7 separate regions of the Homo sapiens genome follow, and all the other regions are linked to region 2. The links are contacts of gene promoters, found by promoter capture Hi-C in blood cells and fetal thymus (Javierre and others, 2016). All regions are on one chromosome and are shown on one strand. The core of a region is centred on a gene start or on the middle of the fragment in contact, and the rest is flanking DNA. Distances in the headings are between cores, read along the strand shown. Region 1 has its middle 38 kb from the start of SPAG17. Region 2 holds the start of TBX15 (T-box transcription factor 15). Region 3 overlaps SPAG17 (sperm associated antigen 17). Region 4 overlaps SPAG17 (sperm associated antigen 17). Region 5 overlaps SPAG17 (sperm associated antigen 17). Region 6 overlaps SPAG17 (sperm associated antigen 17). Region 7 overlaps SPAG17 (sperm associated antigen 17).

The links. Contacts are between HindIII fragments. The CHiCAGO score rates a contact against its expected background, and 5 or more counts as called.
Region 1: a contact is called between a fragment that was not itself captured here and the fragment with the promoter of TBX15 in region 2, in 1 of 17 cell types (M0 macrophages). The highest score is 5.3, in M0 macrophages.
Region 3: a fragment that was not itself captured here is called in contact with the fragment with the promoter of TBX15 in region 2 in 8 of 17 cell types (M2 macrophages, endothelial precursors, M0 macrophages and 5 more); the score reaches 15.1 in M2 macrophages.
Region 4: a fragment that was not itself captured here is called in contact with the fragment with the promoter of TBX15 in region 2 in 2 of 17 cell types (M1 macrophages and endothelial precursors); the score reaches 5.8 in M1 macrophages.
Region 5: a fragment that was not itself captured here is called in contact with the fragment with the promoter of TBX15 in region 2 in 1 of 17 cell types (M2 macrophages); the score reaches 7.6 in M2 macrophages.
Region 6: a contact is called between a fragment that was not itself captured here and the fragment with the promoter of TBX15 in region 2, in 2 of 17 cell types (M2 macrophages and endothelial precursors). The highest score is 9.2, in M2 macrophages.
Region 7: a fragment that was not itself captured here is called in contact with the fragment with the promoter of TBX15 in region 2 in 1 of 17 cell types (M2 macrophages); the score reaches 7.5 in M2 macrophages.

What each region holds. Positions count from the first base shown.
Region 1 is chr1:118,221,321-118,224,211 of GRCh38, reverse strand. No RefSeq gene overlaps it. Among named protein-coding and RNA genes, the nearest start is that of SPAG17, 38 kb to the right of the region's middle. The HindIII fragment of the contact is 3,922 bases long and covers 1-2,891 here.
Region 2 is chr1:118,986,422-118,989,592 of GRCh38, reverse strand. It overlaps TBX15 (T-box transcription factor 15), which reads left to right and starts at 1,250. Exons shown (of 8, transcript NM_001330677.2): 1 at 1,250-2,002. The coding sequence starts at 1,798. RefSeq lists enhancers at 1,317-1,849, 1,850-2,383. The HindIII fragment of the contact is 3,656 bases long and covers 1-2,868 here.
Region 3 is chr1:118,143,152-118,146,007 of GRCh38, reverse strand. All of the region lies in intron 3 of SPAG17 (sperm associated antigen 17), which reads left to right. Among named protein-coding and RNA genes, the nearest start is that of SPAG17, 41 kb to the left of the region's middle. The HindIII fragment of the contact is 2,678 bases long and covers 120-2,797 here.
Region 4 is chr1:118,069,960-118,073,123 of GRCh38, reverse strand. All of the region lies in intron 17 of SPAG17 (sperm associated antigen 17), which reads left to right. Among named protein-coding and RNA genes, the nearest start is that of SPAG17, 110 kb to the left of the region's middle. The HindIII fragment of the contact is 1,518 bases long and covers 666-2,183 here.
Region 5 is chr1:118,107,768-118,110,592 of GRCh38, reverse strand. The region is part of intron 4 of SPAG17 (sperm associated antigen 17); the gene reads left to right. Among named protein-coding and RNA genes, the nearest start is that of SPAG17, 76 kb to the left of the region's middle. The HindIII fragment of the contact is 5,584 bases long and covers 1-2,825 here.
Region 6 is chr1:118,161,178-118,164,057 of GRCh38, reverse strand. All of the region lies in intron 1 of SPAG17 (sperm associated antigen 17), which reads left to right. Among named protein-coding and RNA genes, the nearest start is that of SPAG17, 23 kb to the left of the region's middle. The HindIII fragment of the contact is 4,228 bases long and covers 1-2,880 here.
Region 7 is chr1:118,127,193-118,130,357 of GRCh38, reverse strand. The region is part of intron 3 of SPAG17 (sperm associated antigen 17); the gene reads left to right. Among named protein-coding and RNA genes, the nearest start is that of SPAG17, 56 kb to the left of the region's middle. The HindIII fragment of the contact is 3,703 bases long and covers 1-3,165 here.

The DNA of each region.
Region 1 (2,891 bases), core at 122-2,621, 770 kb after region 2:
TGATCTATCAATAAAGAATCCATCCTCATTCTTATCTCCTTGAAGAAAGGAAGGCAAATCTATACAGCAAAAAATGGATCAAACCAAGGATCCTCACAAGACCTTGGCTCTTAGAGCTTCTAGAATCAGCTATTGAACAACTATCAACTTAAGTGGATAGCTGATGCATAAACAGTTAAGAGAACCGCAGGTATTCAAATATTCCCAATGCAGGTATTTGAATGATGTTGTTAATTGTCCCAAGTGTGCATTTTTAATAGCATATACTCATACATATACAAACACAATGAATATACATAGTTTTTATTCCCTCAAACCCAGGGAAACAGATTACTGTGAATCTACTACTCTAATCTCTCACCTGTGGTCACTTGGTGGCCACAAACACCTGTTCTTCTCTAGGTCTCACTGAAAATATCTACAAGTGGTGGAACTGAGATTTACAGCTATCAACCTTGACAGTTTAGTCACCAATAAAAGCAGCTCCTCTATGCCCCACACTCACTCCACCCCAGGCTGAGTCCATCAAAGGTGCTGTGTATTTCATGCAAATTTCCATGACAGCAGCTCTATGTGGTCCACGCATAGTTTGCCTGAGCAAGGGACAGAAGGTCTATCCTCTTCCTCCCAATGAGCTGATCCTATTTCTCCTAACAACTGGTATGGGGCTGCCCCCTGGAGGTTTAAGAAAGCCTGTTCCCTTCAAGGCAGGCTAGAGGGTCTAACTAGAGGCATTTCAGATGTTGAAACTGGCAGACATCATCTGACCACCTAATCCAACCTTTCAGAAATGAGGATATCCAAGTTCAAACATAGGGAATCAACATGCGCAGATGCAATACTTTTCAAAGAGCCCACCGAGCAATGTGATCACCAGGAAACTAACTTACTGCAGCTTTTTAAAACTAGGGAAAGTGGCCTTACATTACCTACTTAAGATCCAGATTGTTCAGGGAGTTCGTTTCTTGATAGCATTTGTTGAACATCTACTGTAGATAAGACCATGACCTCCAAATGTGTATATATGCTATGCCTAGAAAAGCCATTATGTTTGGATATCAGTGATTTTCTCCAGCTGGCAGGATAATAATTGATTTCTGTTTTCTCTGAGAGAATCAATGAAGAAAAAGAAAAGGAAAAGAAAGCACACTATTGGAATCCTAGGAGGCAGATTCCAGTTCTTCTTAACTGGTGAGTTTGAAACCAACACAAGCATTAAAGAGAAAGGAAAAAAAAAAAGGCATTGGCCTGTAACTGGTGCATATAAGATTCTTGTGCTCCCCTATAGAGGGAAAAAATGATTTAAGATTTGTTATCATTTCTAAGCAACAACATACTCTTGAACTCATTTTGAAATAGCTACAACTCTATTTTTTTAAGATGTAAGTTGCTGGACTTTATTGCACATTGACTTAAACTGAAAGTTGTCCAAATGCCTTTGAATAAGAGATTTAAAGATGAGGGCCATACCACTTTCAGAGGGAGACTTTCCTTCTCAGTGGAACTAAGCGGTATTTCCAAAATATCTGGCTGGATCTTAAAAGTCATTCATGACAGGTGATAATTGATTACATATTGAGTTTTGCCAGAAACTCTAATGTCATTGGCATATAGAGACATAGCATTAACACAGTGTGTATGTGCAGAGGACTGGAACACAAATAGAAGGCTTCATAAATTAAATTTAATGTTTCGTAGCTCTTCTTTAAACAAAGTAGGTGTGGAAATTATTTTAAGTTAAAATTTATTTCTGTGCAAAACAAAAATCAGTCTCTAAGTGTATATGGGGAATAAGAAAGCAGAATTTAAGGTCAAGTGTAACACTAATTGAACGTTAAAAGAAAGAAAATATGTTTTAATATTTAAAAGAGTCAAATATTGAAATTTCAAATAATTTCAAACATGGGCTACACATAAAATAATAATAAGATAATTATGACAATAACAATTACACATGCACATACCATTCAATAGAAAAATTGTCAGAGGGTGACTTTTGATTGGATAAATTGATCCATGCAATTCACCTGAAACTTAATATCATCATTTCTATTTTATTGAAAGGTCAAATGTCTCCTGTCATTCAGAAAAATTTCTGCTAATATGCCTAAAAAGAGAAGAATTTGGAGATAGATAAGGTAACTCAGTGAGTTAGAGTAAAATTAAACTCTCACATTTAAGACCATTGCAATTCATTTAAAACATCTTCAATTGCATTCTGCCTTTTAGAACAGAAGTGACAAACCAACTGACCATGGGTCAAATTAGGCCCAGACTAGCTTTATGAAGCCTACACAATAAATTTTGTTTTGTTTTGCTGTTGTAATTTTTGTTGTTCCTTTTTAAGACTTTTTCAACAGCCTTACAAAGACTATATACTTTATCAATTTATCCACAGGCTAACTATTGTCATATCCAGGCAAATTCACATATTTATAATAACTGGTTTCTATGTGCATTTTTGTTTGTTTTTATTTTGCTTTGTTTTGATGTCTGCTCCAGAGCAGTTTATTTCTTAAACTGCCAGCTCCGATTCATTTGAGGCTGTGAAATATATTCAGTGGTTCCTGGATCAGCATTGTTTTCCACAAACTAGAATAGAGTAGAAATTAGCAGAGCATCACAGGTATAAAGGTAAGCCTTATTTTCAAAAACTGTCACCTCGTGTGTGTGTGTGTGTGTGTGTGTGTGTGTGTGTGTGTGTGTGCATATGCACATAGATTATATACATAAGGGAAAATGCAATTCTTACACTGGCCAATAGTCCACAAAGCCTAGAAAACACCGTTCTAAAGAGTCTTAGAGGGATTAAGATATTCCTTAAGATTATATTCAGATTATGTTTTAAAAAAGAAAAGAAAAGAAAGAAATGCAAATTGAATGCTGGCTCA
Region 2 (3,171 bases), core at 1-2,500:
GGCCTCTCAGTCTGTCCCCCGCCCCCGGGACCCAGCTCTTTCCGGCTTCTTTGCAAAAGGATAGAACCGTCTCGACCAGGGCACTAGGACTGGAAGATCGGGCTGTGTCTAGGCCGCTGTCCGCGAAATCCGAGACGTTTTTTCAGCTTGGCTAGGACCGACTTCGCTGCCGGTTTGAGCTTTCTCTGCACTCGGGGGTCTCCTGCCGTCCTCGACCGGTGGCGTAACTTGGGAAGAGGTGTGGGAATTAAGAATGGCCAGGAGCGTTGGATTTTTTAATTCCTTAGAAATCCATGTTGAATGCAGTCCTTAGAGATCGCAAAAGGCAGGGGGCGGCCAGGGGGGAGATCAGCTGGCCGGGAAAGCCATGGTCTTGAGGTAACGGGATTTGCAGGGAATTTTGAAAAAGCTCCTTCTCTTCTGTTAAAGTTCCTAGCTGTTCTTGCCTGTCACCTCTCCATAGGTTCTCTGCAACAAGAGCCCGGAACAGGCGAAGCGCAGCCCAGCGTTCGGGCCGTAGGGAAAGAGAGTATTTGCGGCGTGAGGGGGCCCAGCTGGAATACGCCTGAGGAGCTCGCCCTAAACCCCGCGCTCCGCCGCCCGCCCCTTGCTCTCAAGGCGCCTGTGTCTCCTTCTCCACCAGGTAGAGCTGGAAGGAGGAAGCGGTCTTTGAATTTTCAGTTACAAGACCCTGGTTAGTAACAGGGCTTTCTGTTTGCTTGTTTGTTTGTTTCCTTTTGCCTTACCCAGATTTGCTTAGAAAACGTTCAGTAGGAACATTAAAACCTGTGTGGCGAAATCCAGGAGGAACCAGAATATTCTAAAGCACCTAGGGGCTGACGCGAAATTATCAGAATCGTTTTCTGGCATTTTGGACAGGTTAACATTTTGTCAGAGCCCCAAAATTCCAGATCTGCAACTAAAGTGACTCTGGACTTGCAGCGTCTATGAGACCAGCAGATCTGGAAGAAAAACGTATGGATTTGGGATTTGCAGGAGTTTGTAAAGGCGCAGATCAGACCTCAACTTTCAACTGTCCTACCTCCCTCTTGGAGTAACCCATGGGGAAACCGGGAAGCCAGGGGTTAAAGTCGGCCCAGGAGCATCCAGGGGACGACTGGCGCTGCGCTTTGGCCCGGGCCTCAGTCTCTCCCTTCCTCTCATTGGTTCGCGCTCTCGGAGTTTCTCTTGTTCCCTCCTCGCTATTGGTTGGGGGCTGGCTTTTTTCCCCCTCAGTCTTTTTCTTCCTCCCCCTCCCTCTCCCTCACCCCTCGGACAGGAGCGCACCGCCTGCCCCCTGTTCCTCGGGAAGGGAGGAATTTAGCGGAAAAAAAAGTTTCCCAGAAGTTTGGATCACAGGGAGGACGGGAAGGCAGAGAGGAAGAGAGAGAGAGGGGGAGGAGAGAAAAAGAGAGGGAGGGGAGAGAGAGAGAGAGAGAGAGAGGAGAGAGAATAATAATAATAACAAAAACAAGATGAAGTTCAGTGGACACAGTCTGTGAGCGCCTGCCCCGGTGGGTGGGAAGCAGGACTCGGGCGCTCATGCAGCGAGCGGGCGGCGCTCGGGGCGCTAGTTCCTAGCAGCTGGGCCAGCGTAGGGGCGCAGGTCGGATCCGGCAGAGGAGGGCGGAGGAGGACGCAGGGGGAGGGTGGAGAGACCCGCGAGCCGCAGTCTCAGCCTCGTCCGACGCGCCTCCGCCTCTCCCGGGCCGGGCCCGGTGGGCGCTCAGAGCTTGAGGGCGCCGGCTGCTCCCTCGGTAGCGGGGGCAAGCGGAGGCAGGGGTGTGGGCGGCTAAAATGAGTGAAAGGAGAAGATCTGCAGTCGCCCTGAGCTCGCGAGCACATGCCTTCTCCGTTGAAGCCTTGATCGGCTCAAATAAAAAACGGAAACTGCGAGACTGGGAGGAGAAGGGGCTGGACCTGTCTATGGAGGCGCTGAGCCCCGCGGGCCCACTCGGAGACACGGAGGACGCGGCGGCACACGGCCTGGAGCCTCACCCGGGTGAGTGCGTCGCAGCCGACCGCGGGAGGCGGGCGGAGAGGGGACGCCGAAGGGCCAGTCGCCGGTCGCGGGTGAGGAGCTAGGCCCTGCCATTGACGCCCTGCCTTGCCCCAACATAGGTTTCTGTTTCTTCGCGCAAATGCCCTGAGCCTCCCTAAATTCACCGGAACCAATTTTTGGGGCTGGACTGAGCCTTGCATTTTCGTCGCCAGCCTAAGCAAGGAGTCCTGTTTGTTTGCATTTCTTTTTCTTTTGGGTGGAGAGCGCAGCTTTCTGGGTGTCCGTGGATGAAGGGCTGCCGGTCCCTGGGATTGGGAGGGGCGCGGGCCGAAGGCAACGGCGGGAGCCGAGATCTAGGACTCGCTTCTGAGAACTCGGGAGGACTGGCGCGGCGTTCTCCAATCCAATACCTCAGTCTTCGGGGAATGACCAGTTGTCTCATTTAGCCTTCAACCTCGTCCTTGCCTTTCTCCCACCAACTTTTCGATGGTGGAACATAATTATATTTCTACTCCTTTGGCGTTTACGGAAACAAGAATGGATGTTAGACCCCTTACTCCTTGGGTCACTCTTCAGGGCCCACATCTCTGTGTATTTAGGGTGTGGGTACGATTGATTTGTGTCTCAGATCCTACAGTAACCCATGTATATTATGTGCACGGAACATGTAAAAAGCAGGGGGGATGTCATGTCTGTATTTTAACAGAACCCTAGGAGGGGAGAAGCCAACTTTAACGTTTTGTGTTAAGTGCCAAGATTTCAACTGTGCAAAAACAGCCCGGGGGAACAGCTGTTGTCGGAAGAATCTTGAGTGTGCGCGCGCGCACATACAACGCTCGCAACTTGGTTTAGCGGTTTCAGAAGCTTTCCAGCCCGGACTTCTAAAACCATGCTGGAAGGTGCTCCTGCTGAACAGCCAGAGCTGGGGAGTAGACCCCGCTTCACACGCTGACAAGCCCGGGGAGGGGGCAGCGGCCTGCACTGGGATAGAGACGGTCTGGGGCTCAGGAGCTTGGGGATCTCAGCCACAAAGCTGTCCAACTCAGAGGAGGGACAGCTGTCGCTTACATTTTCTCTTTAGGCAGTGACAGTTCAATTTCCATGCTCCCGAGGCTAATAATAATGCGATTAGCGGGTGACCTGCAGAGATAGAGTTTTATGAATTCTCC
Region 3 (2,856 bases), core at 209-2,708, 840 kb after region 2:
TACCAACCAGGAAATGAGCCTTCATCCACACAAATGGGCCGTGATTTATGTGCCTGTGACTTATTTATAAAAGACGCATTAGGTCATCACAAAATGAAAAATAAAAAAAATGAAAAGCTTACTGAAACAAAAATTGTCTATAAAGAATAAAAGTTCTTATGCTCTAGTTGATGACTCACTTATTTCAAAACAATTTTCCAAGTTTCTGTACAATAAAGAACTTGAACTATCCTAAACATTATGTGATATGGTGCAATTTTGTAAATGCAAATAATTATTAATTTTTTTTTTACTCCTGTCAGTAAAAAAATTCTCATATTTTTAAGAAAATAATTTTTAAAATAACTTTTTAACAAATATATCTTAAAATATTTCTACGGGCCTTTCTATTGCAACCGGGAGACCATCAAATGTGGAAAGATTTTTCTGATATTAGATTTAAAAATAATGGACCAAATGCAGTTTAATAAAATGTAGAATGCAAATTAGATCTTCAGATCTAATGCATTTCACCATACTTTAAGACACTATGCTAGTGCCTCAGATTAGTATGCCCAGATGTAATAGTTCCATTTTTTGACTTCTGTTTCCTGGATGTATAGAAATTTTTCTCAGGTCTTTTCCAACATGTATTTATTAGTAATTGACAAGTGAGAACACAGGCTTAATTATAATCTATTTTGCCACTCTTTTTCAGATTCCTGATATGAAACTCATTTTTTAAACAGTGCCTTGAATTAATAGTCAATTTAATAGAATTGTAAGCCCTTATATTGGGGGTGGCCCTTGTCAGAATGAAAAATGGAAAACTCATGCTTCAGAGATAGGTACAAATAATATGTGAAAACATTTAAGAGGTTTGAAGTTATTAAAATGGCAGCTCTACTGGGAACAGAGAGAGCAGTATGTCATGGAAGAAACGAAGGAAAAGGGAGACAGGAAGCATTCTCTGGCCTTTTCAATCCCGCGCTTTAAAACAAAACAAAAAAATTCTGGAAGAATTGGAAGCTAGCCAACCTAATGCCGTTATTTCATAGAGCTTAGGGACACACCAGGAAATTGCAGGCCAGTTAGTTTAACTTCACTTGTAGGAAAAGTATTAAAAACTGCTGCAGGAGATCAAGTAAAAGGATGCTTAGAAAAGCACAGCTTGATTAAGGCAAGCCTGGCCAACGTGATTTTCGGAAAGGGAAGGTCATGTCTTAGGAACTTGTTGAAATTCTTTGAAGCTATTATGGCCAGTACAGTCTTCAAAGAATACAGCAAGACTCAGAATCTGCGGATCTTTCCGTTCCACATCAGTCCTTCAGGGATGCCTACAGAACGTGGCCCACACCAGGGCCTCGGCACTCCACATTTAGAAACCACTATCAAAATAGCAGAAATAACCCCTGATGGAACATTTTTTAAAGCTGGAACCAATTAATACAACCTGATATTTATAAATGTAAAATAATGAGACTTGGAACAAAATTTGGGAATATCAAGCTGTAACAAAGAAGTGCTACGTTGGGACTATAAAAACAATCTAGGAGTTCTTGTGCCAAAATCTGGGTTTTGGAGGCATTTCTTACCCGAAGAAGGAAAGAAGAGGAGAAATAGTAATGCTAGAAACGGTTACAAAGGGCTATGAAGAGTTACAAATGAATGACTTTTGTCAAGATGGGGAAAAGAGCAGTCAGATGTGTTAACAGCCCTGGGCCCCCACATTTCTGGAGGGCACCAAAGCAGCTCAGCAGAGAAAGTCAAGTTCAAGCTAGTCACTGAGGGGCAGAAGGTCAGGGCTCCATTGCTTTAGGAATGGGCTCCCAGGGTGTGAATACGTTTGCCTCCCAGATCAGAAACCTGGAGTTCTATTTTCAAAGAAAAGCAGAACTCAAGTAAAGGCATTCAAAAACAATTCAAATCATGCCCCAGCTCTCTTCCACCCTGGGGGTCAGGCAGCTGGCCAAGCCCATGTGGCAAATAGTTAGCAGTCCAGGAGAGGGGAGGTAGACACTGGGGAGGTGTGGTGGTGATGCAGTGGAGCCGGGGATCCAGCAGCAGGAAGCCCATGCCACACAAGGACTGGGTTGCTGGCTAGGACCTGCAGGCAGTGGGCAAGGCAGGAATCTCATCAGGAGTTCCAAGACAGACCTCAGTGGAGGGCCAGCCACAAGAATAAAGTGAGGTTCAGCTAATGAAGAGAAGTCATCACAGCTTCTCCTCCAGGTCTGGGCTGGGGTGGTTTCTGAAACCTCTTAACACCCTATACTCTACAGACACCAGGATTGGAGGGGTGCTGGGGAAGGAATCAAGAAGATTGTATCATTCTGTTTCTGTATTTAAAACTGTGAAAAATCAATAATTACATATGGTGATAATAAAAGTTACCACTTATTGAACACATGTATTCCAAGTCTTGTGTGCTGGGTAGTTCATATATATCAACTAACCTAATCTCTTTTTTTTTGGCTGGCTTTTTTCTTTTTGTGGGGAACAGGAGCGTGCTATGTTGCCTGGGTAAGTCTTGAACTCCTGGGGTTCAAGCTATCCTCCCGCCCCTGCCAGCCCAATTACTGGGATTATAGGTGTAAACCACTGCACCTGGCTAACTTAACCATCTTAACAACCTTTCAGATACCTATGAATGATGAAATTTGAATCAGACTGGTTAGGTAACTTGTTGATTCAGAAGTCTGTTTTTTCTACTTGCATCACACACAAGCTGAGAATAAATAGTTTAAATTCTGGAAGTGACTGTTGTGGTTTAATATGTCTTCAATATAAGCTACTGCTAGTTACTTAGAATTAAGCTTTAAATCTCTCAGTAGTTCTATGATATGTTTATTACTTTTCCTTCTACTCAGGCAAAAA
Region 4 (3,164 bases), core at 175-2,674, 920 kb after region 2:
CTTTTTAATTTGATTTTTATTTTTATCAAAGTTTTACAACGTTTTTTAAGCCAGAAAGTTCTACAAAGTCTTACTATGAAAAATAGCAGCCTCCTTCCCCCATCCCCACCCCACTCCACCAAGCCGCAGTTCTCAGAGGCAAAAATCTTCAGTGCATTTACCCCTTTCTTTTGTTACTTTACTCGGTGATCTCTAAATAGCAAGTATATTTTGTTTAGTTTTAGTTTTGTGACATCATTACCAATTGATTCGCTCTTGAGAACACAGCTTTGCCCACCCCCATCCAACACACATGTGCATGTACAGGTACAGGCTCACCCACCCCCACATTCACATTAGCACTTCTCCATTCTCTGATACTGTTAACAATATCGTAATTTTTGGTTAGATAAGTATTCAGAACTCACTTTATTTCAGTTATGTAAGTGCTATTCACAGCTGAACTGTGTGGTATTCTATAATTACATTTCCTGTATGGGTACCATTTTTATTTTCTCTGCAGTTAATAATTGCCTCTTTTTCTATTTGTTTAGTTTACTATGTATTTATTATTAACTTATCCCCAAATTCTCTACTACTGAGTAAGTCACTCAATACATTCAAACATAACAGATATTCTATTAGTTTTATTGTATTAGTGATATCTCTCCCATATTCCCTAAGCTTGCTGCACAGCTGTGGTCCTGGGCCTCCCTTTACCGTCATCCGGGCCACACCCATTCCCTTCCTTTCCAGTTAGATACCTGTTGCCTTCATCCCATGTGTTCCCTCTCCGGTTACTCTCTTTTTTGTAGAGAATCATCTCTTCCAGTAGCTTCCTTAATTAAGATAGACGGGAAGTAAATTTTTGAGGCATTCAATATTTGAAAACAGCTTAATTCTATCTTTATATTGACTGACAGTTGGGCTTTATAGTAAATGCTAAATTAAAAAGCATTTTTTCTCAATACTTTAAAGACAGTTTTTGACAGTGTTCTGACTTCCCAGATTGTCCTTAGAAAAATAAATAAATACAATTCTGATTCCTAATCAGTTGTTTGAGTATGTTGTGATCCTCTCCCTGGAAGATTTTAAGATCTTCTCTTTGTTCCAATGCTCTTGATTTCCTGTTGATATGCCTTTGTGTGGTTCTGTTTCTATGTATTGTTCTGGCAAGCCGGTGCAATCCAGAAATTCCTGTATTTATATTTTGGGAAATTTTCTATAATCATTTCTTTGATAATCTCTCCTCTCCATTTTCTCTGTCCTTTTTTTTCTGGAAATCTTATTACTCTGGTGTTGGACCTGCTAGACTGAACCTGCAATTTCCCTTTCTTTTTTCTTTTAGTTTCCATCAATTTATCTTTTGGCTTTGCTCAATTTCCATTCATTTCTTATATTGAGCCCTTTATTCCTGTTATTATCATTCTGATTTCCTAAAGTTATATTTATAATTTCAAATTACCTTTTTAAAGAATCATTTCACTTTTTCTTTTTTTTGAGATGATGTCTCGCTGTGTCGCCCAGCCTGGAGTGGCATGATCTTGGCTCACTGCAACCTCTGCCTTCCAGGTTCAAGTGATTCTCCTGCCTCAACCTCCCAAGTAGCTGGGATTACAGGCACTTGCCACCACACCTGGCTGATGTTTGTATTTATAGTAGAGATGGGGTTTCACCATGTTGGCCAGGCTGGTCTTGACCTCCTGACCTCAGGTGATCCACCCGCCTTGGCCTCCCAAAGTGCCGGCATTACAGGTGTGAGCCACTGCATTTCTGATATAATACCTTCTCTTATCTCTATGAGGATATTAAAGTCCTCTGAAGTTGTCTTCTCCATGAATTATCTCTTTTTCCTCCAAGTTTCTTTTCTCATTTTTTGTCTTTTTTGTTTCGTCTTCATTTTTCACATTGGAGGGTAATATATAATATTGTCCTCTTTGCTCATATTAATAATGAAACAATAAAAATATGATAGGAAGTGCTATATGAGGTGGGGTGGGGGGTTGTCAATAACTGAGTTCATTGTTGGGTGATTTGACTGGGAGATTTCCATAGGAGACTCACCATTGTTGGTATGTCAGTTCTGTTTTCTTGGGCCATTTAAATTCTCCATGAAAAAAAAAAAGTCTAATTTTCTGTCTGAAAGACATAAGCCTTCCTGTCAGTGTTTTGAGAGCTAGGTAATGAGGGAAGGGTATTAAGCTTCTGACATTTATTATCTAGATCTGCATTATCCAGTGTGGTAGCCACTAGTCACATGTAACTTCTGAATACTTGAAATGAATCTAGACCAAATTGAGATGTGCAATAACTGTGCTATACACTATATAAGTGCTATTACACACTCAATTTCCAAGACTTTAAAAAGGTGGCATTGATTACTTTTACATTGTTTATATGTTGAAATGATAAGAATTTTTATCTATCAGGTTAAATATAATATATCATTAACATTTATTTTACTTGTTTCTTTTTACTTTTTAAAATGTGGCTACTATAAAATTTAGAATTGCACATGTGGCTCACATTTGTGGCTCACTTTATATTTCTATTGAGCAGTGCTGATTTAGGCTTTTACACAATTCCCTTTTTTTCTAGAATGTACTTCTCTGTCAGTGTGCGTTGGGTCCACTGTTCTTAGAACCCATTCATCTACCATCTGTAGTTACCCTCTTCCCCTCTGCTAGAGTGGGAGATAGGCAATAGCCCAGTTGCTCAGAATTTTAATGGAATCCAGGGGCCTAACTGCTTCTTAAAAAGATTTTAAACTAATCTTCCTATTTTCAGTGCCACTTTCACCCCACTTGCAGAGGTGACTAGTATTTCCATATCCTGAGACTTTCTATATTTCTGCACACAAATGGGGTTGCCTGTGGTCTCTCCTAAAATTAATCTTAGGACTTGGCTTTCTGTATTCTGCTAAGTCATTTAGCATTTATCCTTCTGCTTTCCAGCTTCTAAAATTCCGGTGCCTTTATCTCCTCTCCTTCAACAAGTTGAAGTTGGCTTTCAATTTTATGATATTAAAAAAACAAACAAAATGTTACTGTTCTTTTAATGAGGCGTTAGAGAGTGCAAATGTTCAATCTTTTCTCTGTAACTGAAAGTTTACTTCAGACTTTATACTATTTCAGTTTTTCTCAGTCCTTACTGCTCCATGAAGCTGCACTTTTCAAGGTAATCAA
Region 5 (2,825 bases), core at 29-2,528, 880 kb after region 2:
CCAGTCCTGCCCCCCACGCAGAAATGGCTCAGTCTCTGGGGGAATCTCTTAAAACTGGACATCCAGAGATTATTCCTAATGTCCTTCTGCATGGTAAGGTAGGATAGCATTGGCTGATCTAGTACTAAAGTCTTTCATAGACTACATAGAAAATACAGAGAAAGAAAAGCAAAACATTTGCAATGTGTAACCCTATTATAATTAATGTTAAGATTTTGGCATTTTTCTTTCTGTTTTTTTCTGGGATTTGCTTCTTTACGCAGCTGTAATCATTGTAAAAATGCACCCCTTTTTCAGTTAAGATAGATTATAATTTCTACTCATTATCACAGTGTCCACTCTATCATTATTACTGGTTTTGTGATGTTTTATTGACTATCATAATTTTCTTAACCATTTCTCTATCATTGAGCATTTAAGTTATTTCAATTTCTTTTCATAATAAACCATGTACTTTGCAGTATAGAAGTCTCCATATTTTGGATAATATTCTTAGCATAGATTTATTAAATTGGATTAATGTTTAAAAATGTTCCCATAACCTTGTATGTTCAAAGTGAGCCCTATGGCCACTTAGACCTAGTTCTCCATTTAAAAAAGAAAAAATGGCTCCTGGTCAAATGAGCATGGAAATCACTGTGTATTAGATACAACTCTTGAAGATATTTAAGAACATAATAGCTAATTAAAGATGAAGGAGTTTTGTGAAAACCACTATATTTAATATTGTTTAACCTACGGTCTCTCAAATTTATGTGATCTTATACCTTTGTTTAGCCTATCTCTTGTCCCCTATGATAGCTTGTTTATGAGATAGGGTGATATCTTGAAAGAGAACTAGAGGAACACTCAGAAAACCCAGTTTCTCATAAACTACATAATAGAGTGAATTAGTTACAAACTCTGTGAGTATGTTTTCTTATCTATATCCTCAACAATACTATTCTGAGGATCTTATTATAAATTTTATATGAAACATTGTTATACATGAATATGTATATGCATTATTATTATTATTATTATTATTATTATTATTTTGAGACAGAGTTTCACTCTGTTGCCCAGGCTGGAGTACAGTGGCACGATCTCGGCTCACTGCAACCTCTGCCTCCCAGGTTCAAGTGATTCTCCTGCCTCAGACTCCCAAGTAGCTGGGAATACAGGCACGCGTGCCACAACACCCGGCTAATTTTTTTTTTTTTTTTTTTTAGTAAAGATGGGATATCGCCATGTTGGCCAAGCTGGTCTCAAACTCCTGACCTCAGGTGATCCACCCACCTCAGCCTCCCAAAGTTCTGGAATTGCAGGTGTGAGCTACCACACCCAGCCTACATTAGGCAGGAGAATCGCTTGAATCTGGCAGGCGGAGGTTGCAGTGAGCTGACATCGCGCCACTGCACTCCAGTCTGACAACAGAACAAGACTCCGTCTCAAAAAAAAAAAAGAATAAGATGAAGTATAGATATATATCATCAGTTTCACTGACATTTACCATTTATCTTCCTTTCATTGTAAGGAATTAGGAGAATGAATACTTATTAATTATATTTGAATTTTGACATCAAGAAGTCATTTAGAAATAAAATATGATCTAAAATATTTTGAAGCATCCAATAACTAGGTTGCCCTATTATAGAGAAGGAGAATTTTTTATTTTTCCCTTTAAAAAGTGAGAATAACTTAAGATTAAGTGTTCTAGATAGGTGTCACTTTATATTCAACTGAATATGTGAAATGCCAACACTTTTTTTGGTTATTGCTGAGACAAGAATCTCACATATGCTATGTAACTTAACCGGTTAAGAAATCTCTGTGCCTATCCAAAGCCGTCTCACAGTAGGAGGCATCTAGATGCTTTCTGCACATACTGCATTAAAAAAAAAAAAAAGTAATCTGTGGCAAACTTGACTCTTCCTTCATATGCTGGGGAACATGTGTTCCTCAAACATCGTGGAGAGAGGCACTTTTTGGATATGCCCCTCCTAAAATTTGCCTTGAATTGACAAGAGTTCCCTCTGAATTTTTAAAGTTGTGAGCTAATGACCTTAGTATGGGAACATGCATGCCATGTTATCCAGAAGCAAGAAAGGCCAGAGAAAGAGTTTGTATGAACTAACTTGAGTTTATAACTTAGGGGGTCAGCTTTGCTGAATGCGCCTGATCTGGTTAACTCCATTCCCACTCCCAGATTTCAAGACATAAACCCATAAGTGAGAAGGGTTTACTCAGAATGTGAGAAAAAGGAAATGAAAGATAGGAAATGATTTTCCTATGATTGGGGCTTGGTACAAAAGGATATTTCACTTTGAAACCAAGGTAGAATTCTAGGGGCCAACCAGTCAATCACTCTCCAGAATTAAAGGGACAAAGAGACTGTCCTGGTTCAACTTCAGTATGAAGGATGGGAGGAGTGAGGGATAGACTGAATCCAGGAGAGGAATAAGTAGACCACCATTATGGTCAGCCATGGGGAGAGAGCAGAATGCACTGGGTAGGGTAAAGAACATGTTCAAAAATCCACCAAAGACATCTCGACCTGGATCCGGAACCCAGGAAGACCTAGGTACTTCCATTCAGTTTTATTGTCTACATATATTTTCTCTGCACCAGAGAATCCTTTCTTTACCCAGGAAATTCTTTACATAGTAATACATATTCTACCAACTGAAGATATAACACTGTTAAATGGAAAAATGCAGGACACCAAGTTATATAGAGAGAACAATAACAGTTATGTAAAAATGATGCAGAAAGTTAATTCAAAAGAATGCATTGCACATCTTCTTCACTCATCTTCCCCAAGTGGTAGAATTGTGGTGGCTTTT
Region 6 (2,880 bases), core at 305-2,804, 830 kb after region 2:
TGGTCAGAGAAGGAACAGCCAAAGGAATAAAGACAGAATGAGAACGGGGTGGTGTCATAAGAGTCAAGTTAGAGAGAAGGTCACAAAATGGCAATTCAAGTCCCCAACATACAAACACCTTGGGAGAATAGGCAAGGCAACCATATCTGGTAATGAGGACATAATCAGTGATCTTCCAGAATGCAATTTCAATAGGGTGTATGGTGGTGGTGCTGGTGGTGAGGGAAGAAGTGTAGTGGGAGTGTGGGGATTAAGGACATTATGGCCTTTCAGGATGTGGGAGCTTTTGGTGTAGGTCACATGTTTGGGGGAGTTTGACTATGAAGTAAAAAGGTCATAAGGGAAAATGGTTAGTGGGGAGTCTGGGCTTAGGTGAAGATGGCCATGTATGTGTGAAGTAGGGATAGAGAGGAAAGAGGAGTGGATTGAAAACAAGGCGAGGCGAGGGAGAGATGGGAAAATTGAAGGAACACAGTTAGAGAAGAGGTCATTTGCTCTAGTAAAAAAAAAAAAAAAGGAAGAAGGAATCAGAATGTCTTCTTCAGCCCAACAAAAAGGAGTAAGTTCTTGGGGCCAGTGAAGGATGTTTTCAGATGGAAAATGTAAAAAGGAGAGGAAACCGCGGCAGGAAAACCTTGTGCTTCTCAGGCAGTGGGAATGAGGTCACCACATAGACAGACAGTGGACAAGCAGGACATGGACAAAGAATTCCTTCCACTAATTCTTCAAGTGACCTCTGCTCGTGAGGCTTTTCCTAAGACACAGGGAGAGATGGGTTCTAGGTCAATGCGTATCACCTTGTATTATAAGTGTTTCTATATCTGTTTCCTCTACTAAACTGTTGGTCTTTTGAGAGCAGACACTTTTTTTCAGTACTTTTTTAAATGCAGAAAAGCACGAAAAGATAATGTGGCAAGCACATTTGTACCCTCACAAAAAATTATTTTCTTTTTTGAAATAAACCTGTAAAATTAAAGCTGAAGAACTCTTGTCCTCACCCCCATTCTATGTTCCATTTCTTTCTCTTTCTTCTCAGAAGCAAACACTAATATGGATGGAATACATATCCTCTTAGCCTATGTATCTATTTATCTATATTCATGAATAACATATAGTATTGTTTATTGTATGATTTCACTAATAGTTAATATTTACTGTGTGAGTACTTATGTTGCATGTGCTGCCCTAGAAATAAAGGATGTAAACATAAATAAGACAAGAGCAATTAAAATAAATGAACTAAATCTGTATATCTCAACATGGATAGACATCAAAACATAATGTTGAAGGAAAAAAAACAAATTGCAGAATTAGTTAATACAATATGAAACAATTTGGGCTCCATGTTATTCAATTTTGCATCCTTCATTTCTAGGGCAGCACATGCAACGTAGGTACCCACGTAGTAAATATTAATTATTAGTAAATACATTTGGATGAACAATATGATAATAGAAATGAACAATTTGTACAGTGCTTCATAGCTGCGAAATACGTTTACATGTAATCTCTTTTCACCTTTTTTGTGTATTTCTCTTCCCAGGCTGATGCTGTTTAAGGGAAGTGATTATGCCTTATGCCTATTCCCAATGCCATGCCCATTTCAATTTTTGTAACCCCTCAGTAAATATTAGCTGAATGAATGAAGGACTTTCTGCTCTAAGTATTATTATTATTTTGCTAAGGTCCAGGTTGTGAGTACTTAAATGTTTTTCCAAGGCCATGTGGTTGGAATCAGGACTAACAATCAGGTTTTCTGATACTAAATCCAGTGCTCTTTTTATTACACCATTGAAAGAGCTATTGTAAGGACTCTATTAGGGAATCAATATGAGAGGAATAATTATAATGAATTACTGCCCTAACGTATCCAATAAATAGATTCCATGTACCTGTGTAATTGGAGAAAATTAAGAACCATAACCAGATCTAGGGCTTGAAATTTATTCTAATCATTGACTGGGGATACTTTGTCACGTGGTCCTTAAAGGGGTTTTATATTATGAAGGAGATATGTGAATTATGAGGGTGTGTAGGATTACACAAGTGAGGGAATGAGTGGGAAGCAGTTTCACTCAAGTAGAACTGCTCTTGCTAAGGTCAGCAGTGACCTTCTAATTGCCTTTGACTACATACACCATTCCTCCCCTGGCTTTAGTGACACCTTCCCCCCAGTTCTCTTTCACCTGTCCTTCTTGTTTGCCTCCTAAGAAACCCTTCCCTGGCCGGACGCCGTGGCTCACGCCTGTAATCCCAGCACTTTGGGAGGCCGAGGCAGGCAGATCATGAGGTCAGGAGATCGAGACCATCCTGGCTAACACGGTGAAACCCTGTCTCTACTAAAAATACAAAAAATTAGCCAGGTGGGGGCGGGCGCCTGTAGTCCCAGCTACTCAGGAGGCTGAGGCAGGAGAATGGCGTAAACCCGGGAGGCGGAGCTTGCAGTGTGCCGAGATCCTGCCACAGCACTCCAGCCTGGGCGACAGAGCGAGACTACGTCTAAAAAAAAGAAGAAAAAAAACCTTCCCTATTAAAAAAAATGATAATTGCATGAAACTCTAAAGAAAGTTACAAGCATTCTCAGAAGAAAGATCTCAGGAACTACTTCAGACACCTCCACCCTCCACAATTTTATCTTCCCTCCCACTAGGATTGATTGATCTTGATTAATACTTTTACCCTCCACTTGTCTGTTTAAGGTCTGACCTCATTTTCCTTACCCTATGACAGGTCTCCACTGCCTTTTACTTTCCTAGCACAATTGCTATGTCCTGAGCAGCTGGAGAAGTCAGGATTACTGCACAGCTCCAGCTCTGGACACTAATTCCCTCAGTAAAACCCAGTCAGGGCCACTGATGTTAAATAGCCTTTACAAGAAAT
Region 7 (3,165 bases), core at 584-3,083, 860 kb after region 2:
TAGGCCCAAATCAATTCCAGAGATTGATTTAATAGTTGTGGGGTAGATCCCAGGTAACCCATATCTTTAACTAGGTTCCCAGAGGTTCTGGGGTAGGTGGCACACAGCATACACTGGAGGAAAACTGTCCTATGGGAAACTATGCAGCATCCATCTGCTCATTAAGGGCTTTCCCAGTAGTCAGCCAGGAGACATACCCTGTATGCCTCCTAGAGCTAACTAACAAGTCAAAGAGATTAAGGGGGAGGACAAGGAAATTCAAGGAATAAGCCCTTTTATAAGCAGATTTCATTCAGATTAATACTTAGAAATTAACAACAGCCTAGAACATCATCCACATCAAGCTGGAGAAACACTACAACTTTTTGATAATTGTGGAGAAACCAAGAACTTAGGGTAAATGAAGACAGGGCTGATACACTGAATACATTCTTTGTCTAGCAGGACATTAGCAGAAATCCCACTCCAGGACTCCAGGCTGTCCTCTGAAAGGGGCAGCTTAGTAAGTCTAAATGGAAGAAGAAGAGGAAGAGGAGGAGGAGGAAGAGGGAGAAGAAGAAGACAAAGAAGAGGAGGAAGAAGAAGAAGGAAAGAAAGAAAAAGAAAAAAACAAAGAAGGAAAGAAAAGAAAGGGAAAGAAAGAAAAGAAAGAAAGAAGGGAAGAGGAAGAAGAAGAAGGTAGAGAAAGAAGAAGGAAGAGAAGGAGGATGGGCAGGGGGAGGAGGAGGAGAAAGAAATTAAGGAAATATAAATGCATAACTGAGAGTTAGCAAGGGCAAGGGTGAAACTGACAATATGTGGGCTAAATACATTATTATGAAAGGCCACATAAGAAACCAGGTACAAAACAATGGTTCTCAAATCTAGCGTATATCAGAATCACCTGAGGTCTTGTTAAAAGCAAACACTGCTGGCCCTACCCCCAGAGTTTCAGATTCAGCAGGTCTGCGTTGGAGCCCAAGAGTTACGTTTCTAACAAATTGTCAGGTGATACTGATGCTGCTAGTCTGGGAAACACATCTTAGTATTGTCTGGTTAATTTTTAAAATTCTATTAATTAGAAGGCATAAATCTCTCCATATCAGTATCAATTTGTTCATCTTCTAAGTTAACAACAACAAAAATTAAAGTTGGCTTAAACAATTAGGAAATGTACTGGCATGCAGACGTAGAAGTCCAGGCAGGCTTCAAGGTCAGCTTAGTTCAGGGGCTCCAGCCCACTTCCCTGCTGTGCTCTTACCCCTTCCTTCATCTGTGTAGGAGCTTCAGCTTCCCGAAGAAGGTAAAGTGGCTGCAGCAATCTCATCCCTTAAGACTCTTCCCAGAGCTTTGTCATGACCAAGGAAACCAGATCAAGCAGCCCCAGAAAACCATGCCTCATTCTACTGGCCTGAACAAAATCACATGCACCTCTTGAACCAATCATGGACAAGGGGGGTTAGGATTATTTTTAGTGTGAAGGGGCCCACCCATGGAGCTGTGTTTCCCCTGAGTCACATGAGCTGAATGAGAGAGAGGGCAATGCCTGAAAAAAAGTCAGATTCTCCTATGAAGGAAGGTGACATGATGGAGGAGCAATCAGCAACCTCTAGTCTGAGAAGTGGAACATGGTATCCAAACCAAAGGCTAAATTAACACATCTAGTGCTCCAGTGTTGGGGTGCAGGAAGTTCAGGGACCAGCCATATTCAGATAGCTAAGCAGGCAGCATGAGTCAGTCAGTAACTAGTAGGGTCTCAATCACTAGTCTCAGACTGAAAGCAGGATTTTTAGGAAAATGATTTAAGATTTAAAGAGAAGGAAGGTAGAAAATGGAGGTGGCTGCCAGCCTGAGTCATTTCTACGAAGCAGGGAAATACTGAAAGCCTTTCCTCTAAGAACTGGAACAAGATAAGGATGCCCACTCTCACCACTTCTATTCAACATAGTACTGGAAGTCCTAGCCAGAGCAATCAAGTAAAAGAAAGAAATAAAGGGTATCAAAATTGGAAAATGGGAAACCAAGTTGTCCCTCTTTGCAGTCGACACGATTTTATACATAGAAAAACCTAAAGACTTCACAAAAAACTTTTAGAACTAATAAATTTGGTAAAGGTGGATATAAAATCAACATACAAAAATCAGCTTTTCTATACACCAATAACAAACTAGCTGAAAAATCAAAAAAGCAATCCCATTTGCAACAGCTGCACAAAAATAAAGTAAAATGCCTAGGAATCTTTTTTTTTTTTTCTTTTTGAAATGGAATCTTGCTGTGTCGCCAGGCTGGAGTGCAGCGGTGCGGTCTTGGCCCACTGCAACATCCGCCTCCGGGATTCAAGCGATTCTCCTGCGTCAGCCTCCCAAGTAGGTTAGACTACAGGCATACGCCACCATGCCCAGCTAATTTTTGTATTTTTAGTAGAGACAGGGTTTCACCATGTTGGCCAGGATTGTCGCAGTCTCTTGACCTCATGATCCACCCACCTTGGCCTCCCAAAGTGCTAGGATTATAGGCATGAGCCACTGTGCCCAGCCACCTAGGAATCAATTTAACCAAGAAGATGAACTATCATTACAATGGATACTACAAAACACTGTGAAAGGAACTGTAGAAGACACACAAAAAAGAAAAGATATCCTTTGTTCATGGATTGGAAGAATGAATCTTGTCAAAATGACCATACTACCCAAAGCAGTCTACATATTCAATGCAATCTCTACCAAAATACAAATGACATTCTTCAGAACGAGATAGTTTAGATATTTGTCCCTACCCAAATATCATGTTGAAATATAACCCCCACTGTTGGAGGCAGGGCCTGGTGAGAGGTGTTTGGATCATGGGGTTGAATTCCTCATGAATGGCTTGGGCTATCCCCTTAGAGATAAGTGAGCTCTTGCTCTGAGTTCACATGAGATCGGGTGGTTTAAAAGTGTGTGGCACCTCCCCACACTCCCATCTTGCTCCTGCCTTCACCATGTGAAGTGTCTACTCCCACAGTTGACTGTGAGTTTCCTGAGGCCTCCCTAGAAGCTGCGCAGATGCCAGCACCCTACTTCCTGTACAGCCTACAGAACTGTCAGTCAATTAAACCTCTTCTCTTTATAAATAATCCAGCCTCAGGTATTTCTTTAGGGCAGTGCAAGAAAGGCCTAATACACAGAAATAGAAAAAAAAATCCTA